Linked DNA regions of Homo sapiens: all the other regions are linked to region 1. Evidence: promoter capture Hi-C in 16 types of primary human blood cells and fetal thymus (Javierre and others, 2016). All regions are on one chromosome and are shown on one strand. The core of a region is centred on a gene start or on the middle of the fragment in contact, and the rest is flanking DNA. Distances in the headings are between cores, read along the strand shown.

Region 1 (2,732 bases), core at 158-2,657:
GGTTCTAGTTTATGTCCAGCTCCCTGGTGTCTCTGGTCCATTTGTCACCCCTCCTCAGGGAAACCCTCTCTCATCCTCGGGCTGAGGCTGACTGTCTGTATAACACACTCGCCCCTCAACACCACTGCAATTGACATTTATTTGTGTTTTTGGAGATGGGTATCCATCTCCCCTACCAGCCTGTGAACACCGTAAGAACACAGATTGTTGAGCCCTGGCACATGACTCACACCTGTAATCCCAGCACTTTGGGAGGCTAAGACAGGTGGATCACTCGAGGTCAAGAGTTCGAGACCAGCCTGGTCAACATGGTGAAACCCTGCCTCTACTAAAAATACAAAATTTAGCTCGGCGTAGTGGCAGGTGCCTGTAATCCCAGCTACTTGGGAGGCTGAGGCAGGAAAATTGCTTGAACCCGGGAGGCGGAGGTTGCAGTGAGTGGAGATTGCACCACTACACTCCAGACTGGACGACTGAGCATGACACTATCTCAAAAACAAAACAAAAAAAAAGGGACTGTTTTTTGCTAAACACAAATCGACCCCAGGCTTAGTACCCTGCCCGGCATTAGTAGGTGCTCCCCAGATATCAGCTGAATAAACGAATGATTCTGGATCGGACTCCTAGACTTGCTACTTCTCTGTGACCATTGTGACCTTGGTCAGGTTGCTTCACCTCTCCATGCCTCAGTTTCTCCCTCTATAAAACGGCACTCGTGATCACCACTCACCTCACCTAATCCTTGTAACTCACTATCACAATGAACGTGGAGAAATTCCTACTGAGAGAAAGTGCACGATAAACAGAAGCTGTAACGCCCTGAGAAGGCGGGACTGGCTCGAGAGCACCCAGTCCCCGCCACGCCTCGCCACCCCCGGCCAAGGGTCGCGCAGCCCCTGGACGCCCTGCCTGGCTCCGAGGCCGGCTGCGGCCCCGCTTCTGGGTCCTCCACCGAGGCCCGAGCCCCCGGCCCCGGCGCCGGGGAGCAGAGGGCGGTGCAGTCAGTTACCTGGCAACGCGGTGGCTGCAGCCCACCGCGTTACGTAGCAACAGGGCGGGGATTACCCACTTAAGACCCCCGCCCGGTTACCCAGAAACAGGATGGGGCTCTCAGGTGAGGTCTACCGGCCTCTCTGCCTCACACCAGGATGGGGCTCATAAGCCGGTTACCTAGCAACAGGGTGGGTCCCCGCGGGCGGAGGCCCCTGCCGGTTGCCTGGCAACAGGGAGGGTGGGGAGCCCTCAGTACCTTGCCCTTCAGGTCCAGCACGTAGACGGCGCTGGCGGACATGATGGCTGCAGGAGGCCTCGGCAGCGGCCGAGGGCGGTGGCGGCGGCAGCGACGGTGGGGACTGCTGGGCGTTGAGCAAGGCCGGGCGCCGCCCGCGACAGCTCACCTCCACTTCCGGTTCGGGGAGCCGCGCGGGGACCGTTATGTCCGGTCCGGGAGGTGCTGTCAGGAATGCGCAGGCGCAGGACGGACTGTGCGCAGGCGCATTACGTCGTATGTAACCATGTTTCTTGCTCCCGCCAGAAGCATCCCGGAAGTAAGGCCCGGTGGGGCGGGGCCGACCAAATCAGGGCACCCAGTGGCCGCTGCCAGGCTGAGCTATGGAGCCAGAGCAGCTGGAAACGGCCTCCCGTGGGCCGAGTTAGGCGAGAGAGCCTGGTGGTGAAACCGACCTGGGGCCCAGCCCTATGGAGCTCACAGTCTGGTGGGGAAGTCTATGAAACAAGTGTACAGTCACCAATTGTGATAAGCTCAAAAGAGAGAGGTAAGGTCGTGGTTACTTGGAAAGAGGTCAAACAAACTTTCTGAATGGCAATCAAACCTTATCAACAGTCACCACCTGTCATTGTCAACATTTATCAATGAATGAGTGTGCCTGTTTATTGCCTGGAATGTTATGAAAACCAGCCTCACTGAACCTTGACCCAACATACCGTGTTTCATTTCTGCAAAGTTAGTAATCAGTAATGCAACTGGTGGCCCTTGATTAATCCATTGAGTCATATTTAATTTGCTTTTATGAACTCTTGGGCTTTGGAGAAATGCCTGCATTCTGTTCCAGTTAGCCATCATAGTACCCTGGGGATCCCAACCCTGCAATACCAGAGTGATTTACCCAGGATGCCTGCCTCTCACATCTTTTATTTTCTGTCTTATCTCCGTTTTGGCGTTTGGAAAGATGATTTTTGCAACTCGGTAATTATATAGTGTTTTGCTTAGGAAAGAAATGTGACCGAAACTCTAGAGAAGCAAACTAGAATGTTTGAAGACTGCTAAGTGACTCCTGGGCTGGAAGGATTCTTGCTCAAGGCACAGAGCAAGCAGCCAAGAGAGGGTTTTTGTTGTTTGCTTTTTTTTTTTTTTTTTTTTTTGAGATGGAGTCTCACTCTGTCACCCAGGCTGGAGTGCAATGGCATGATCTCGGCTCACTGCAACCTCTGCCTCCTGGGTTCAAGTGATTCTCTTGTGTGTCAGCCTCTCAAGTGGCTGGGATTACAGGCATGTGCCACCACACCTAGCTAATTTTTGTATTTTTAGTAGAGACGTGGTTTCACCATGTTGGCCAGGCTTGTCTCAAACTCCTGACCTCACGTGATCCACCCACCTCGGCCTCCCAAAGTGCTGGGATTACAAGGGTTAAGTTAAATATTAAAAGATAAGAGAGCCAGTGCCCTTATACAAAGGCTGGGATGTAACAAAAGCCCACCCAGAGTTGTGCCTA
Region 2 (2,993 bases), core at 131-2,630, 170 kb before region 1:
CGGGGGTGCCACACAGGATGCAGCCACCGAGGAAGCCCTGAGGTCCTAAGTGCTGCCAGCTCTCCCACTTCTCTGAAATGCCAGGCCAACATCGAAACCAGGGCTCAGTGACCTCTCCCCATCATGTGCCCATGTGGGTCCCAAAACCTTTTGTTGATTGCACAAGATCCACTTTAAAAATGGCATCTCCATTTGAACCCTGCGGTTAGCACCTCAGCCTTGAACTTAACTACTTCAATTTCGTTCCCACGATGATCTCAGAGAGATAATCCGGTGGGTACATGTGAAATTCTACAATGGGACAAGTGGTTCCACCATCTCAAGGGGCCTGGAAAATTCTGGCACTTGCCTGCCAGCCAGGATGGGGAGGGGGTCCCAAGGAGCCTAAAACGGCCAACCAGGTGGAGTCCCTCTTTCCTGCCCACGCCCCCCATCCCCCAGCACTGCTGTGTTCAAGGAAGCTTCAGAGCTTCCGTCTGAGCCCTCTGGAAGGTCTGTCTTAGGGCTGGGTGGGACCTGCTGACGGTGCCAAGGAACGGTCCCACTCTGAGAGGGAGGAATGTCAGCCTTGTATGTTTAAACTGACTGCAGGCAGATTGCCGTTTGGAGCACTTTCTGTTCTGTAAAGACCACTGAGTTTGAAAATAGAAGCATTTGCCTTCCTGGGCACACTGTACCCAGAGGCGGATCCAGGGAGTGTCGTGTGACTCGATTATCATCTGGTGTTCAGTGGGGTGCAAATGCTGAGGCCTGGGGGGCTGCAGGGTGGGGTGCAGGCCTAGAGTGGCTGGGCTCCCACCCCAGCATCTGAGTATAGGTGTGAACAGACGGGAGCCATCGCCCTGGGGACATCGGGTGTACCTGCCTCCAGGACACCTCAACCCCTTGCTTGGCACCTGAGGGAGGTGAGGGCTGGGGCAGACGCCTCAGAAGGGGGCTCTGGGTGCAGCTCTGGGCACCGCCTCCCTGCTTTTCTGGCGGGGTGAACATGGCCCCTCATCTTTCATCTCTCCTATTCAAAGCCCTGAGTCAGCGCGCCCCTTGCCTGCCACTGCTAACTGCAAAATATCACATGCACTCGGGCAATGGGGAATCTGGCCATAAAGAGAGCAAAAGTGTCCCCCACCATGGGAGCTCCTGGTGGGCTCTGCGCCTCACTTGCTCCCCTCCCAGGGGCTCTTTTGGGTCCTTTCATGCACGACCCCTAACCAGCTTTCAGACTCGCTGCACGGCGTTCTCAGGGATCTTGTTACATGTGGGCAAGGCGCCTTCCTACCCTTTGCAGAGGTGGCGTCTGCGACATTGGCACACTCCGTAGGGAGGAACAAAGCTGGGCCCCCTTGCCCTGTCAGGGCTCCCCGTGCCTGGCTCATGCATAGATAGCATCTCTCCCTGGAAATCCCCCCAGAGGATGGGGCTGACACCCAGGGGTGTTCACGCAGGGTATGTCAAAGGTGCCCGCCAGAGAACAAATGCGAATTTTCAAAGAAGCCAGAATTGTGACACCTGCCAGTCTGTATTATTTTTGTCATGAAGACTGGCTTGTGATTTGTAAATTCATTTCCAAATCACATACCCCACCCTACACACACACACACACACACACACACACACACTTTTTTTTCTTCCAGGGCTGGTGCAGCCCTTGCCTGGCAGGTTTTATGTAAATGTCATGGGAGCCTTTTGTGGTGACCTCTAGAAAATTGTTATTTCTCACTTCAAATGATATTTGCCTTTTGAGGACCCCAAGGCACAGCACCTTTTCCCCACTTTCTTCTTTTAATGGCAAGATGAGGCCACAGCCATTGGGTTCAACAGCCCCCTGCCCACCTCACACACCTCACAGGGCAGGAAAACACAGCGGCCAGCAGTGGCTCGTAGTAAATATTTGTTCAGCTTTTCTCAACAGTTCAGAACCAAACCTCATCCTGTTCCCTTCAATGCATGAAGCAGATTTTCTCAAAATTCGGTAAATATTTTTAGTGGAAAATCTCAACGCTGCGATCGCAGGGACCTCAGATTCTTATCTCCCGGGGCTGTGCTGCTTGACACAGCTTTGATCTAAGGCAGAGTGCGCGCGGGGCTGGTGCCTGCAGGACTCCCAGCCTGCAGGTCCCTTACGTGGTCCCGTGTGTCACATTGTAAAAAACAAACTCCCCTCATGTGTCTTAGATGGGAGCCAGAGGAAGACGTTGACGTGTGTTGGGGAAAAGCACTCTTTCAAGACAAGTCCCCGAGCAGTGATGAATTTTAGAACCTATACTGTTTTCTTTCTCCCCTCTCCCCGCAGCTAAGCTTTTTTTCTGGCAGGATGGGGAGGGTGGAATAAGACATGTCAGTGGCCTTGGATGAGCTCTGCTGGAGTGGTGCCCCGCCCGGGCCACTGCTCTCCTAGGCAGCGTGACTCTCAGAAACCTGGCAGTTGTATGGGCATCTGTGTTGTGTAGGATGAATGACAGTTGTGGTTGTGTGGGATCACCTGTTGTGTAGGGTGAATGACAGTTGCATAGGTGTCTGTGTTGTGTAGGGTGAATGATGGTTTTGTGGGATCACCTGTTGTGTAGGGTGAATGACAGTTAGGTGGGTGTCTGTGTTATGTAGGGTGAATGATGGTTTTGTGAGATCGCCTGTTGTGTAGGGTGAATGACAGGTGGGTGCCTGTGTTGTGTAGGGTGAATGATGGTTGTGTGGGCACCACCTGTTGTGTGGAATGAATAACAGTTGTGTGGGTGTGCATGTTGTGCAGGATGAACGAGAGATGTGTGGGATCACCTGTTGTGTAGGGTGAATGACAGTTGTGTGGGTGTCTGTGTTCTGCAGGATGAATGACAATTGTGTGGGCATCCTCTGTTGTGTAGGATGAATGGGAGTTGTGTGAGTGTCCATATTGTGCAGGATGAATGACAGTTGTGTAGCCATCTCCTGTTGTGTAGGATCAATGATGCTTGTGCATGTGTGTCCCCTGTTGTGTAGGATCAATGATGGTTGTATGT
Region 3 (2,974 bases), core at 339-2,838, 220 kb before region 1:
AGGACTCTTGTCATCCCAGAGCTATAATTTCATACGTAATTTCTTCTTGGGACCCGTGGGACACAGAACCCCCCTTGTTTCTGTGTCCCGCCACAGCTCAGCTTGTCTGACTCCTGTTACCTCTTTGTGATCCCTGGCTTCTGAGGTTAGCTTGCTGTAGCTCCGTGACTTAAAAGGCAGCAAGCCCATTTCTCATTAGAATTCCTTTATTGGCATCTTTACGTCCACCAGACTTGAGAAGGCTCACAAAATTTACACAGTACAATGCCACAAGTAAAAATCAGGTTGCTCTTGCCATCTGAACTCTCATCATTTGAATTAGATCCATAGATTTTTTTTTTTTAAATATATAAGAGACAGGATCTTGCTCTGCTGCCCTGGCTGGAGTGCAGTGGTGCAATCACGGCTCATTGCTATCTCAACCTCCTGGGCTCAAGTGATCCTTCCACCTCAGCCTCCCTAGTAGCTGGAATAGGTGGATGCCACCACACCTAGCTAATTTTATTTATTTATTTATTTTGTAGAGATGGGGTCTTGCTGTGTTATGCTGGCTGGTCTTGAACTCCTGGGCTTGAGGGATCCTCCTGCCTTGGCCTCCCAAAGTGCTGAGATTACAGGCATGAGCACTGTGCCTGGCCTAGCTCCATGGATTTTGATAAATTGTTTGATCAAGTCCTTGCTGTACTTCATCACACATACTTGCTACGTGAAACCCCTGAACTAAGCTGATCTGGGTCACATGGTATCCCTTGTTTCCCAAGCTTGCTTTCTGATTTCCCTGAGTTGGTATCAGGAGCCTGTTAGATTTGGACATCACAGGAGACTCGTTCATGAAGAGTAAACGAGTTTAACCATTGTTTCCCAGTCTTGACCATGAGTCCCTTCTCCTCAATCCTATGGACATCTTCGGGTTGTCAACACTGTGAGAACTCTTTGAGAAATCCCCCCCCCCTTTTTTTTTCCCCGAGACGGAGTCTTGCTCTGTCGCCCAGGCTGGAGTGCAGTGGCACAATCTCAGCTCCCTGCAACTTCTGCCTCCCAGGTTCAAGCAATTCTCCTGCCTCAGCCTCCTGAGTAGCTGGGATCACAGGTGCCTACCACCACACCTGGCTAATTTTTCGTGTTTTTAGTAGAGAGGGGGTTTCACCATGTTGGCCAATCTGGTCTCAAACTCCTGGCCTCAGGTGATCCACCCACCTCAGCCTCCCAAAGTGCTGGGATTATAGGTGTGAGCCACTGCACCCAGCCTAAGAAATCCTTTCATAACTGAGAGGAATGACTTTGAGTGGCAGTTTCAGGCATCATGGCGTTCATTGAAGGTGAGGAGTGGAGTGGCTTTTCTGTACAGTTGCTGCGTGGAGAAGGAACAATCGATCCCTCCAGCCACATTTGCCTGTCCTTTTTCTCTCCACTCCCTCATCATCTAGATAATTCAATCAGGTGTTTATTCTCATTGCTATTATGAGATTGTTTAAAAGGAGTGATTTGTGTAAATATTTAAAAAAAAAGGGAAGAGGAAAAGCACGTCTAGAGTTCAGGACACAGATGCCGTGAACTGTGGCGTGGTGGGTGTATTGAAGGCCCGCGGTAATGCAGGTGGAGTAGGCCACGGAAGGGGCCTGCCCCTGAGTGCCTGAGGGGCCTCAATGCCTCTGAACCAGGAGGTGACCGGGCCCTGGTTGACCCATGATGGCGTTTGCCTCTCTCAAGTTAACTGTGAGCTGGTGGCGAGAGGGGTCGCACGTGCAGCGGGTGACCCAGCCCCAGGGCTGTGAACTTTGAGCTGCACTGGGCTCGTGGCTCCATCTGCCCTGGTGGGGTTGGGGCTGCATGAATGTTGGTGGGGCCTCGTGGGTGGTGGCCCTCTTGGATGGTGGTGTCTCATTTGTTACCTGTCAGTGACGTGTGTGTACTCACACCTTGGGGGTATCTTTGTTGTCTCAGGAGTGGGGCAGGGACATAGAAGGGTGGTCTTCAGAGTCCTGGGACAGGACACTTTGGCTGCCTGTAGGGCAGCCTTTGCGGGCTGAGGAGTGGGAGGACCAGGGAGGCTGGCATGTGGCCGGGCCGGTTCTCCAGGGACGGTCCTTCCAAGTGGGTGCTCGGGAGGGTCTTTCCTGGCATGCTTGAACCCATCCCCTGAAGATCACAGCCTCCCTCACACCCTGGGTGGCAGGGTGGATGGACAAGGAGAGCGGGTGATGGGGTGGAGAGAGGTGCAGACTGGCATCTGGGTGAGCTTCACAGAGCCAGCCTCAACCTGTCTCAGCCTCAGTTTTGCCAGTTACAGAACAAGGATCACATCTGCCCTCTTGGCTCATGGAAGTGAGGAGAGTTTGATGCCAAATGTGCATGGAAGTGCTTTAATCGCCCCATCATCAAAAAGCATGTGTCTGGGGGTCATAAAAAGCTTCCAGATTAACTGTTTTGCCAAAAACTGTTTCAGCCAACAGTGAACTGGGTGGTGCCCGTGGCAGACAAGATGCGATTTGATGAGATATTCCTGAAGACCGACCTGGACCTGGATGGCTACGTGAGTGGCCAGGAGGTGAAGGAGATCTTCATGCACTCGGGCCTCACCCAGAACCTTCTAGCACACATATGGTAAGGCCGGACAGGTGGCAGTTGTGGCTGTGGGTGGCTCCAGGGGGCCTGTGGGTGAAGACTGTGGAGGGTGGTGGTCAGGGGGCCCCCTCCAGCCTGTCACAGGCTTCCGCTGTGTCTGGCGTCCTTTATTCTCCCTGGCCTGACAGAGGCTGAGCAAGGTGCACGTGCCAAGGCTCGAAGCCCGCGCTCCGTGACGGTCAGTTCACTGTCTTTCAGTAGGAAGGGCCTCTGGTCCGTCTTAAGTGCTCCCAGGCCATTTGCTTACACAGCTGGGCCCTATTCTTGCTGGCTGTGATGCTGGCTCTAACAGGAGGCCTGGACTTTGTCACAGCCGCCTCCGGGAGGTGCGGGCAGCAGGGCCTTGGAG
Region 4 (2,752 bases), core at 202-2,701, 200 kb before region 1:
GTGGGTCGAAGTTGGGGGTTTTAGGTCCCTGAGAATAGTGTATCCACAGTGGTACATCTGGAACTTCCTATGTTTGGACAGTTCTACTCAGGTTACTAAATTCCATGTGAAGCTCACGCAGTGTGACTTTATCTCAAAAGTCAGGGGTTTTTTTTTTTTTTTGTTTTTGTTTTTTTTTTTTTGAGACGGAGTCTCGCTCTGTCTCCCAGACTGGAGTGCAGTGGCACAATCTCAGCTCACTGCAACCTCTGCCTCCCGGGTCCAAGTGATTCTCCTGCCTCAGCCTCCCGAGTAGCAGAGATTACAGGCACGTGCCACCATGCCCAGCTAATTTTTGTATTTTTAGTAGAGACGAGGTTTCACAGTGTTGCCCAGGCTGGTCTTGAACTCCTGACCTCAGGCAATCTGCCCGCCTCGACCTCCCCAAATGCTGGGATTACAGGCGTGAGCCACCTCACCCGCCAAAGTCAGGGTTCTTAAAGCCATATTTATTTCTTGTCTATCATCTGATTATGAGAATATTGACCTCTTGCTCACCATCCAATCAACTTATGGAGAGAAGCTAATAAATCATCCCAGACTTAGGCCTTACTGAGGACAGATTAAGAAAGGTTGATTGATCTGTCACATCCAGACCCAGTGGCATGCTGGAGCCAGTTTTTATTGACTTTCCAGAACCGATTATTAAATAGGAACTGGCCGGGCACAATGGCTCACACCTGTAATCCCAGTCCTTTGGGAGGCTGAGGTGGGAGGATTGCTTGAGGCCAGCTGCGTGCCACTGCACTCCAGCCTGGGTGACACAGCGAGACTCAATCTCTAAAAAAAAAAAAAAAACCCCAAAAAGCAAAAAACAGGAACTTGTGAGCTAGTTGCTTGGAAACTTGAAATCAACCATGATGAGACTGTTTACACCACAGGAATTGGCAGAAGCTCTAAACCAGGGCTTTTTTCTGAGAGAACTGATTCCCAGCACACCCCTGCTGCCCAGCACTCCTCTAAAGGGCGGGAATGTCACAGAAGCTTCTTCAGCCCCCTTTCAGAGTTGCCGTGTGTATTTCCTAAGAAGGGTACAACTTCACACTGGTTGCTGAACTTGTTCAAGATATTACATCTCTGCCAAGGGCCGTGTCATTCATCCTGGCCCTTGTCTGCTGTACTCGTGTCCCCCAAGTTGGCAGATGGGTCTGTTCTCCTTAGTAGGTGGTCTGCAAGGGGTAGAGTTGATGGTATCTTTGTAACAGGGAAATCTCGTTTCCCACTCTGATTCTGTGCAATGGAATCAAAACCACTATTAGTTACCCTGACCTCCTGAATCCTGCTGGGGTCTCAGGCTTCCCCTTGGAAGGGGAAGGAGTGATTGTGGCTTCAGGCCAATGACTCCTGAGAAAGTGATTGCAGGCCTGACTGTCAGTGCAGGGGGCTTGCAGCCAGCATTCCCAGAACCTCAGTCTCTTCTCTGCCATTGTTCACTGTTACTTGGCAGTCTTCCAAGTGACGACTGAAAACACTGAAAAAAAAAAACCTTATAAATAAATGCCAATTAAAAACTAAATAGAGCCAGGCATGGTGGCGAGTGCCTGTAGTCCCAGCTACTTGGGAGGCTGAAGCAGGAGGATCCTTGAGCCCGGGAGTTCTGGGCTGTAGTGTGCTATGCTGATTGGGTGTCTACACTAAGTTAGTCATCAGTATGGTACCTTCTGGGAGCAGGGGACCACCAGTCGCCTAAGGAGAGGTAAACCTGCCCTGGTCAGAAGCGGAGCAGGTCAAAACTCCCACGCTGCTCAGTAGTGGGATTGCACCTGTGAATAGCCATTGCCCTCCAGCCTGGGCAACGTAGTGAGATCCTACCTTTAAAAACAAACTAAATAGAAGCTTTCATTCTGAGGTCAAGCTGGCATTCTTAACTCGCTGCTTTATCCAGGTCATGATTCCTCTCTTTCTTCTGGAACAAATACATTCCTCCTTCCATGGGGCAGTGTGAAAGGCAGATTTTCCACGTGGGCCTCCTGGCTTCTTTAGAGTAGGACTTCTCCATCTTTATCTGCATCCGAGACCCCCATCAGACGCTTGCTGGGCGTGTGTGTCTTGTGGTCGTCAGCACCTGACGTCCACTCAGCACTGTCTCCAGCTGCAGTGCTTGTGGACATCTGTACTTAACTTGTCTAAGAACCCGGCTTGGTTTCCCCACCTTGGGAAAACCCTGTGGTCGGAGGCTCCAGCTATTCTTTCCCAGGTAAGAAAAACCATTCCATGTTCATCAGATGGCAGGGATGTGGGTGCATTCTCCTGAAGTGGGGGCCGAGGAAGCGGCACTCATGCTGATTCACACTCATTCACAGCCCAGACCGGTGGCTTGTCTTAACTCTGTACCTCTCATAACTGTCCTGCACCCCTAAGTTGGCTGCCCCAGGGTGGTGGCAGCCTTGCTAGGAAACTTTCTTTTGGACCTTTGATGTCATTTCCCCACACCATTGTCCCTATTTTTGTGGACGCCCCGGCTTTTTAATGATTTTGTTTTGGTCGGTTGGAATACTGGACTGGTTTGTGAGTCCTACGCAGGAATGCCAGTGTGTCTGCCAAATTCAATGAGGGTGTTGTGCTGTTTTTTTAATATCACAGTGAAACATTCATGTTTTCACTGAGGGTGTGTCTTTATTAACTAAAACAGAGTCCTTATTTAAACCAACTGTATTGTTCCCATGTATATGACAAACCCACCCTTTTCAGACTACTTCCCATTACAAAAATG

The links. The method cuts DNA at HindIII sites, captures the fragments that hold promoters and counts their contacts. A CHiCAGO score of 5 or more calls a contact.
Region 2: a fragment that was not itself captured here is called in contact with the fragment with the promoter of AP1M1 in region 1 in 3 of 17 cell types (naive CD8 T cells, megakaryocytes and total CD8 T cells); the score reaches 5.4 in naive CD8 T cells.
Region 3: a contact is called between a fragment that was not itself captured here and the fragment with the promoter of AP1M1 in region 1, in 7 of 17 cell types (naive B cells, total B cells, non-activated CD4 T cells and 4 more). The highest score is 9.3, in naive B cells.
Region 4: a fragment that was not itself captured here is called in contact with the fragment with the promoter of AP1M1 in region 1 in 13 of 17 cell types (naive CD4 T cells, non-activated CD4 T cells, naive CD8 T cells and 10 more); the score reaches 12.4 in naive CD4 T cells.

What each region holds. Positions count from the first base shown.
Region 1 is chr19:16,196,586-16,199,317 of GRCh38, reverse strand. AP1M1 (adaptor related protein complex 1 subunit mu 1) reads right to left here and starts at 1,407. Exons shown (of 12, transcript NM_032493.4): 1 at 1,250-1,407. The coding sequence starts at 1,291. RefSeq lists a silencer at 1,024-1,263. The HindIII fragment of the contact is 4,202 bases long and covers 1-2,732 here.
Region 2 is chr19:16,368,300-16,371,292 of GRCh38, reverse strand. The region is part of intron 22 of EPS15L1 (epidermal growth factor receptor pathway substrate 15 like 1); the gene reads left to right. Among named protein-coding and RNA genes, the nearest start is that of KLF2, 45 kb to the right of the region's middle. The HindIII fragment of the contact is 1,834 bases long and covers 464-2,297 here.
Region 3 is chr19:16,420,949-16,423,922 of GRCh38, reverse strand. It overlaps EPS15L1 (epidermal growth factor receptor pathway substrate 15 like 1), which reads left to right. Exons shown (of 24, transcript NM_001258374.3): 10 at 2,447-2,604. Among named protein-coding and RNA genes, the nearest start is that of EPS15L1, 50 kb to the left of the region's middle. RefSeq lists an enhancer at 2,410-2,974. The HindIII fragment of the contact is 1,649 bases long and covers 764-2,412 here.
Region 4 is chr19:16,397,767-16,400,518 of GRCh38, reverse strand. The region is part of intron 16 of EPS15L1 (epidermal growth factor receptor pathway substrate 15 like 1); the gene reads left to right. Among named protein-coding and RNA genes, the nearest start is that of EPS15L1, 73 kb to the left of the region's middle. The HindIII fragment of the contact is 852 bases long and covers 1,026-1,877 here.